2 separate regions of the Homo sapiens genome follow, and region 2 is linked to region 1. Evidence: promoter capture Hi-C in human tissues and cell types (Jung and others, 2019). All regions are on one chromosome and are shown on one strand. The core of a region is centred on a gene start or on the middle of the fragment in contact, and the rest is flanking DNA. Distances in the headings are between cores, read along the strand shown.

What was found. Contacts are between HindIII fragments. The study calls those that stand out against the background at their distance.
Region 2: a contact is called between a fragment that was not itself captured here and the fragment with the promoter of SLC17A2 in region 1, in 1 of the 25 tissues and cell types used here (adrenal gland).

What each region holds. Positions count from the first base shown.
Region 1 is chr6:25,928,622-25,933,611 of GRCh38, forward strand. SLC17A2 (solute carrier family 17 member 2) reads right to left here and starts at 2,070. Exons shown (of 12, transcript NM_001286123.3): 1 at 1,656-2,070. The HindIII fragment of the contact is 8,808 bases long and covers 1-4,990 here.
Region 2 is chr6:24,785,217-24,789,943 of GRCh38, forward strand. It overlaps GMNN (geminin DNA replication inhibitor), which reads left to right. Exons shown (of 7, transcript NM_015895.5): 7 at 422-883. The coding sequence ends at 583. Among named protein-coding and RNA genes, the nearest start is that of ARMH2, 11 kb to the right of the region's middle. The HindIII fragment of the contact is 3,858 bases long and covers 1,130-4,727 here.

The DNA.
Region 1 (4,990 bases), core at 820-3,319:
AATCAGGCTAACATACCAAACCATCCTAAACTGAGGTCTTTCATGGTAATGGGAAATGTTTTTCCAAAATAAGCACAGAAGCTAATAAAATTATGGAGGCTGAACACTGGCATGGTTGATATGTACTTAGAGACACTGGAATAATTATTAACCTATTTGCAAACAATTGAGAACATGTAACAGTGTCAGAACCCTTCCCTTTAAGGAGATATACCTCTAAAAAAAAATTGTGAATTCTAGTGCCAAAGTTGTAAGTAGACACAGAAAAATGAATTGAAATTAAGTTAAAGGAAAATGTTATATTAAAAAAAATTACTTGACACAGTATAGGTTGAATTTGAGAAAAAAATAAATAATGTAAATATTATGGTATACGCATAAGCAAAAAAACAGGTTTTTCCCTTTTTTTAAGTCTAGAACTCATGATTTTATTATAATGGTCGTTAGATTGCTCTTAGATTCTCCTAATATCCAGCCTGTCTTGCTTCATCTCTGTTAGCCCAGAGTCCTAGTTTACTCAGAGTAAATGTTACACCTAGATCAAAGAGCATGAACCTGCAGTGGGAGGATATTCAAGGACTGAATTCTGCTCTGCCATTCCCAAATTGAGTAAACCAGGTAAAGTTTCAAAAACTCTTAGGGCTTTCACTGTTTCATAGGAAGAATTGGGATAATGTTACTTCACTGGGCAGTTTGGAGTGAAAACAAAAGTATGAGACATGCCTCGTAAATTGCAAAGTGTTATATGTTGTATAATATTCTAGATACTAGCAACAGCAATAATAATAAACAGTCACAATATTGGCAGTCTAGCCCTCTCAGATCCATAAATACAGGCCTACAGCAAATGAAATGTATTTCTATAAAAGTGCCTTTGATTGGTTGTTAAATTGGTTTTAAATGTTTCTTTTTTAAAGTGGATTCTTCTGGCCTGGAATCCTCAAGATGAGTGGGGAGGAGTTCACCAGAAAACATAGAAGCAATTCCTTCAGTGTTAGAAAAACTGAGGGCCCTCTCATCATCTGCCTATCTTTCTGAGAAATTGGTGCTGACCACAATGTCCCTGGGTGCCTTTTCTTAGCTGTACAATGAGGGCAACAAGCTAGGTGATCTCTACAAGCGTACAATTTTCTTGCCTTCAGTCTTATTCATAACTTTGGTCATGTTCTCCTTTTCTTTTATTATTATTATTTTTTTGAGACAGAGTCTTACTCTGTCACCTAGGCTGGAGTGCAGTGGTATGATCTCAACTACTGCAACCTCTACGTCCTGGGTTCAAGCAATTCTCCTGCCTCAGCCTTCTGAATAGCTGGCACGCGCACTATGCATGCGCATAGGTGCACGCGCCGCTACGCCCTGCTAATTTTTGTATTTTTAGTGGAGACAGGGTTTCACCATGTTGGCCAGGCTGGTCTCAAACTCCTGACCTCAAGTGATCTGCCCGCCTCAGCCTGCCAAAGTGCTGGGATTACAGGCGTGAGCCACCAGGCCCGGCCATGTTCTCCTTTTCCTGAGAGACCATTTCAAATTCATATAGAAGTCTGAAAAGACTCGTTAGCCACAGTCCCAAACACAAATCTTGTCAGTTCTGATCAGTATTTCATTCCACAGCCAATCCCAGTCTGACTAATCACAGCATCACAGTTAATACTCACAGCGTCCTTGGAGAAATGACCATTGTCCACAGTGTCCATTGGTACCAGTGGCTTCTCAAGCCTTGCCCTAGGGTCTTCATTGAATCAGTTATCTTTTTCAGAGAGTCTCTTCATTTTGGAATTAGGCAATATTACCAGATGGAGATCCTTATGTTGCTGTTAATGTCTTTTCTCTGACTTCTCCTAAAACTGTTCCCTCCCCTTAATGGACCTTTGGTAAGTTAGTAATAATCCTTCTACCCAAAAAGAAGAAAAGCACTTACCTTCACCATTAAACCAGTATTTTAAGCCCTAGACTATAAGGCTAACTTGGAAAAGGAGGGAGTTTTCTGTCCCTTCTTCCCTTTCAAATACTTTTGCAGATTTTTACAGGGATAAATAGTGAGCCACGTGGCAGTCAGACGGCAACAGGTTTGGCCCCACTTTCTCAGAAAGCCTCGGCTTGGTTTTGCCGCTTAATTTTTAACTTCATTTTCAAGTTCTCACTGTTAGAGTATCTCAAAAGATGTCATCGTGTGTTTCTGCTTTGAACTGTGCATACAACCATTCAGTCAACAAGCCTTTTTTTCTGAAAGCAAGGGGGCATGGTGTGGAGGAAAGGGCAGGGCTCCTGAAATCAGTGATGGAGTCAGACCCATATTCACTTCCTAGTGTTTTCCCTGAGCTTGGACAAGTCACTGAACCTCTTTGAATTGGCTTCCGCTTTAGTAAAGCAAGGATTGTGTTACTGTACTCATGGGGTTATTGAACAAATGAAATACATATTCTAATTGGTAGTAGCTCCTCAATAAATGAGGTGTTCATTCCTCTTCAGGAGTTCAGTTAAGTCAGCTAGATTTTCCATATGCATTTGGTGCCCACAGCCTAATGAATGTGAACTGTGACTGCCCTGGCAACTTCCCAGGAAGCTGCCTTGTACCCCTCCTTCCTGTTTCATATCATCCATGTCTTCCCTAATCCATTTTCTGCTTGGCTCCCGACTCTTGGAATTGTGTCCTATTTGTAATCATTAATTTTGAGACTGTGGTTGCTATTGGATCTTCCTAGTGTGACGCAACCCTTATAAAATGAAATGAGAGCCTTCCCTCTCTGGCTTATCAGCTTCAGACTTCCTTAATTGAGTTCCGCCATCCTAGTGAGTCTCACCATACTCCCGAAATAACCTGCTGGAGTAGGCTTATCCTACTCAACTCCTCAGATCTCTGTATTTAATTCTATTTTATTGCTGTTGTAGTAAATTACCACAACTGTGATGGCTTGAAACAACACAAAATTATTTATTTATTTACAATTCTAAAGGTCAGAAGTCCAAAATGGGTTTCACTGAGCCAAAATCAAGGTATTGGCAAGGTTGTGCCCCCTCCAGAGGCTTTAGGGGAAAATCCATTTCTTTTTCTTTTCAGCTTGTAGTGACCACTGCATTTTTTGGCTCTTGGCCTTTCCTCCACCTTAAAGCCAGCAGTGTAACATCTTGAAGTATTTTTCTCTTATTCTGACTCTTCTGCCTGTCTCTTATAAGGACCCTTGTGATTACACTAGGGCCCATCTGCAAAATTCAGGAAAATCTGCCCATCTCAAAATTCTTAACTTATTAAACATGTAAAGTCCCTTTTGTCATATAAGGTAATATATTTACAGGTTCTGGGGATTAGGACATGGATATCTTTGGAGGACAACATTCAGCCTACCCTTTTGAGGGATAGAGGGGTAGCAGGAAGAGTTGAAACAATTCCTTCCTTTCTTTATTTAAAAATTCTGGTTATTGATTTATTATAGTTATCATGTGCCTGATAAGCCAATGAAAATAGTTATAATGGCCAGGGGCAGTGGCTCATGCCTGTAATCCCAGGACTTTGGGAGGCTGAGGCAGGAGAATCGCATAAGCCCAGGAATCCAAGACCAGCCTTAGCAACATAGGGAGATCCCGTCTCCACAAAAAAATGCAAAAATTAGCTTGATGTTGTGGCACATGCCTATAGTCCCAGCTACTCAGGAGGATTGCTTGAGCCCTGGAGTTCAAGGCTGCAGTGAGCTGAGATTGCACCACTGCACTCCAGCCTAGGCAATAGAGCAAGACCCTGTCAGAAAGAAAAAGAAAGAAAGAAAGAAAGAAAGAAAGAAAGAAAGAAAGAAAGAGAGAGAGAGAAAGAAAGAAAGAGAAAGAGAGAAAGAAAGAAAGAGAGAAAGAGAAGAAAGGAGAACTTTCTTGGCTTAATTTACCCAAAAGGTATGATATTTTCTTAATTTGCATAAGGCAGAGCATGAGCTGATACCAGTTCTGGTAGAAAAAGTAGGTGAGACTGGATCCCCCAAACAAGAGTAAATATTTAATATAATAAGGAAAGAGTGGCCGAAAGTATTCAATGCCACAAGTAAGATTCAGAGTAGATTTTTCAAACTGCATAATTTGTTTAAAAAGCATAATTTTATAGCTGGATTTTGCAAGCTCTCTGAGGGGATCTTGTTCATTTTGAGAATCACTATATCCACAATTCTTGGCACAGTGTCTGTCCTATGGTGTGTGCTATGATCCAAATGTCTGTATCCTCTCAAAACTCATGTTGAAATCCTAACCCACAAAGTGATAATATTAGAAGGAGGGGTCTTTGGGCAGTAGTTATACCATGAGGGCAGAAACCTCATCACTAGGATTAGTGTCCTTATAAAAGAAACCCAAGGAAGTTTATTCAACCCTTCTGCCATGTTAGGACTCAGCAAAAAGATGGCTACCTGTCCTCACCAGACACTAAATTTGCCAGGGCCTTAATCTTAGACTTCCCACCTCCAGAACTGTAAGAAATAAATTTTTTGTTGTTTATAAGTCACCCAGTTTATGATATTTTGTTACAGCAGTCTGAACAGACTAAGACAGTACACGCTTAATAAACATTAGTTTACTGAATGAATGAATTCTTGCATTGCTTCACCACCAACAATCAAGATCTCTGTAGCTGGTTTAACCCCCTCACTCCCAATCATGATTTTCATATAACAAAGTTAACTCAGTTAAATCAACTCAATAAGGTATACATTAAATGAAATTAAAGAAGTTGTAACATTTATAAACATCAAGAGTAATGTAGAAGAAAAGTCCAGAGATCCTTAAAAATTTAAGCCTCTCTGGCCTGACATTAACAGCTAAGGCAGGAACAGAAAACCAAACACCTCATGTTCTCACTTATGAGTGGGAGCTGAACAATGAGAACATGTGGACACAGGGAGGGGAACAACACTCACTGGGGCCTGTTGGGGGAGGATGGGGTGGGGGTGTGGGAGAACATTAGGTAAAAGAGCTAATGCATGCTGTACTTAATACCTAGGTGATGGGTTGATAG
Region 2 (4,727 bases), core at 1,809-4,308, 1.1 Mb before region 1:
AACTGAATTGTGACCTTTTACATTTGAGATCCATGATAGAATTAATATTTGAAGTTTTCATTTGGAGATACTGTGGTAGCTGTCTTAACTGCCTTAAAAGAATTAGTCCACAGCTGATTGGAAATGTAGAACACCTACTTGTCCTTGCAGCTGATTGGGGAAGTACCTGTTTATACTCTGAAATAATTTCAGTGCTTTTTAAAAAAAAAAGACAAATTATTAAACACTTTGACTTTGCTGACTATGATCTAGCATGGTAGAGACTTTGATATAATACTGTTTATAAATGAATTTATTGAGGGGCAAGATGAAAAAAATCTCATAGCTATATCAGTATGCTATACGGGTCAGCTATATCAGTATGCTGATCAGCTTAGGTTTTAACATTTTTACAATAAATTATTGGTTTATTCTTTAAAAGAGACTGAATGGTGAACCTCTGGATAATTTTGAATCACTGGATAATCAGGAATTTGATTCTGAAGAAGAAACTGTTGAGGATTCTCTAGTGGAAGACTCAGAAATTGGCACGTGTGCTGAAGGAACTGTATCTTCCTCTACGGATGCAAAGCCATGTATATGAAATGCATTAATATTTGACTGTTGAGAATTTTACTGCCGAAGTTTACCTCCACTAGTTCTTTGTAGCAGAGTACATAACTACATAATGCCAACTCTGGAATCAAATTTCCTTGTTTGAATCCTGGGACCCTATTGCATTAAAGTACAAATACTATGTATTTTTAATCTATGATGGTTTATGTGAATAGGATTTTCTCAGTTGTCAGCCATGACTTATGTTTATTACTAAATAAACTTCAAACTCCTGTTGAACATTGTGTATAACTTAGAATAATGAAATATAAGGAGTATGTGTAGAAAATTTGTCTGTTTCTATGCTTTTATGTTGTTCTCTTTCCATTCTTTTGCTAACTACCTTGGAGGAGACAAGGAGAAAACGAACTTAAAGTATTTAGACTGAGATAGCTGAGGTTTTTAACTCCCAAACTTTGTTGTACCTCAAGCTCATTGTAGACACTATTGATATTAACAAGTTGTTTTTGGAATGGAGCATGAGAATCTATTTTCCAAAAGCTTTTCAAGTGAATCTGATTAGACAGTGAGAGGCCCAACTGGCTAGCAGGATCAGACTCTTCTTGGAAGCTTAAAATGATGGATGATGGTGATAATCCTCAAGAAACAAAGTGAGGAGTGGGTAGAAGTTTGACGGAAAAAATCAGGAATAGCTGAAAATTATGGAGCTTTTCTATTTCACATATTGGTATAGTGCAAAGTATGTAAATATTGAAGAATAAGAGTAGGGTCAGATTCATTAGGGATTTCCCATATATACTAAGTTTTGAAGGAGGAAAAGTACAAACTAGGGGTATGTAGCATTGGAACTGAAAAAGTTCTGTGAGAGGCATACAAGTAGTTTTGTATAAATTGGCAATAAAGAGCAATGTCATGCTTTTATTTTTTTTCCTTTGAGACGGAGTCTTGCTCTTGTTGCCCAGGCTGGAGTGCAATGGCATGATCTTGGCTCACTGCAACCTCTGCCTCCCTGGTTCAAGTGATTCTGCCTCAGCCTCCTGAGTAGCTGCGATTACAGGTGCCTGCCACCACACCTGGCTAGTTTTTGTATTTTTAGTAGAGCCGGGGTTTCACCATGTTGGCCAGGCTGGTCTCGAACTCCTGACCCCAAGTGATCCGCCCACCTCAGCCTCCCAAAGTGCTGGGATGACAGGTGTGAGGCACCACGCCTGGCCTCAAGCTTTTGAAAGGATTGTTTTAGGTAAGCATCCTTATAGAACCTTAATTTTCTCTCTCTGTCACCCAGGCGGGAGTGCAGGGGTGCAATCTCAGCTCACTTCAGCCTCCACCTGATGGGCGCAAGTCATCTTCCCACTTCAGCCTCCCAAGTAGCTGAGACTACAGGTGCGTGCCACCACACCTGGCTAATTTTTTATATAGACGGGGTTTCGCCATGTTGCCCAGGCTGGTCTTGAATTCCTGGCATCAAGCGATCCGCCTGCTTCGGCCTCCAGAGTGTTGGGATTACAGGCGTGAGCCACCGTGCCTGGCCTTAATTTTCTTTAATACTGAGATAAAGCCTACCTCATAGTGTTATCGTGAAGATTAAAACCTTTAGTGTCTAGGCTAAGTGTCTTAAAAATGGAAGCTATTATTAATCTATAACAACATTGTCCAGTAGAACTTATTGGGATGATGAGAATATCTGCTGTACAGTATGGTAGCCATTTCTGTGTGGCTGTTTAGCACTTGAAGTGTGGCTAGTGTGAATGAGGTATGGACATTTTAATTTAAGTCACTACAAGAAGCTAGTGGCAATTACGTTAGTGTGGCTCTGTGTGTTTCAGGTGTGGATCACTAGCCTAAAGATAGGATTAATAGGTAAATTAATTTTAAAGGAATTGAAGAATATTCTGGATTAGAGCATGAGGAGACTCAGTTGAGAGGCCTTTAGCATGGTTAAGAAAGAAAATAGGTAAGTAGAATAGGGACTTGACAAATAGAAAGTATTTTTGTAAAATGCCAGAATTTGATGGTGGGGAGCAAAAGGAGAGGGAATTGAAGGGGATTAAAAAACTAAGGTAGTAGCTAAAACCATAAAACTTCTAGATTATATAGAAAAGTTCTTAGTGACTTTGGGTTTGGCAGAGAGTTCTCAAATAGGACACAAAAAAGCATCAACTTCAAATTAAACGTTGTAAATTTTAAAAACTTTTTGAAAGACAAGCAAATGAAAAGGCAAGAACAGACTGGGGGAACATATTTGCAGAACATAGCCAACAAAGGATTTGTATCTATAAAGAACTAGGGTATGTATGAGATGGAAACTAAGTGCATGAAAAGATGCTCAACATTAGTCATTAAGGAAGTGCAAATTAAATGACAACCAGATACTGCTACATACCTTTCAGAATTGTTTTAAGTTTGAAAAATAAAAACAACTCCATCGAGTGTTAAGGATGTGAAACATCTGAAACCCTCCTGCAGTGGTGGTGGCAGTGCTAAATGCTACAACTGCTGTGGAAAAGTTGAACAATTCCTTAAAAGTTATACATACACATTTTATATGACTCAGCCATTCCACCCCTGGGTATTTACCCAAGAGAAACGAAAGCATATGTCCACATGAAGACTAGTTCACACATTTTCATAGCTTTATTTGTAATAGCCCAAATATCCATTGGTAACTGAGTGGATAAATTATGGTATAACTATACAGTGGAATACTATTTAGCAATAAAAAGGGGACAAAAATTGGTACACGCCACATGGACGAATCTCAATGTTGTGTGAAAGAAGCCAGGTAAATACATACTGTATGCTTCTATTTATTTAAAATCACAAAACTACAAAGTATAATGAGAAAGCAGATTAGTAGTTGCCTAAGGGTCATGTAGGGGCTGTTTTGGGGGACATATTTTAAGCTTCTAGTCCCTGGGAACTGACCCTAGTGATGGAGAATTTGTAGGAATTTCCTGTGGAAGATGAGTCTGATTTTTAATTAGGTATCAAATGTTAGTATAGCATGTCAGCCGGGTGTGATGGCTACGCCTGTAATCCCTACACTTTGGGAGGCTGAGGCAGGCAGATCACTTGAGGACAGGAGTTCAACATCAGCCTGGCTAACATGGCAAAATGCTTTGTCTACTAAAAATACAAAAGATTAGTTGGGCGTGGTGGTGCACACCTGTAGTCACAGCTCTTCGGGAGGCTGAGGCACACAAGAATTGCTTGAATCTGGGAGGCAGAAGTTGCAGTGAGCATAGATTGCGCCACTGCACTCCAGCCTCGGCAACAGAGTGAGGCTCTGTCTCAACAAAACAAAAAACATGTCAATGAAAATACCTTGGAGAAGGGGTCAGGGAGTCAATCAAGCCTGGCCCATTAGAACAAGTTCTTTGAAGTTGGTTTAATAAAATGCAGTCGAGCTTCGTTAAGGAAATGGCAAATGGATAAGAATCAGTTGGAAAAACAGTATGCATGAAGCCTGGATTAGACTGAACTAATTTGTCAATATATTTTACAAGGCTAGCATAACTGATATCAAGATTTGAGGATGGACCAGCCAGGTGTGGTGGCTTATGCCTGTAATCCCAGCACTTTGGGAGGCCCAGGTGGGCAGATCACCTGAGGTCAGGAATTCAGGACCAGCCTGACAAACATGGTGAAAACCTGTCTACTAAAAATACAAAATTAGCCAGGCGTGATGGTGCATGCCTGTAGTCCCAGCTATTTGGGAAGCTGAGGCAGGAGAATTGCTTGAACCCAGGAGGTAGAGGATGCAGTGAGCCAAGGTCGCGTCTTTGCACTCCAGCCTGGGCAACGAGCGAAACCTCATCTCAAAAAAAAAAAAAAAAAAAAAAAAAAGAAGGTAATGAGGATGGACCGTAAGGTTGGAGTAGGGGAATCTAGAGCCTTATTAATACAGATTGAAAAATCATAAATAAAATGGCAAGTCTAATCTACTAAAAGATAAAACGATGACCAAGTTAGGGTTTATCTCAGGAATGCAAGACTGCTATAATATTAGTAAACATGAAGTTCTTTATATTAAAGGGGAAAAAGCATATCATCTTAATAGATGGTAAAATAGCATTGATAAAATTCAACACCCTTTCTGGTAAAAACCCTTGGTAAGCTAGGAAAAGAAAAGAATTTTAACCTGAAATAAACTATGCTACCCATGCTTAACA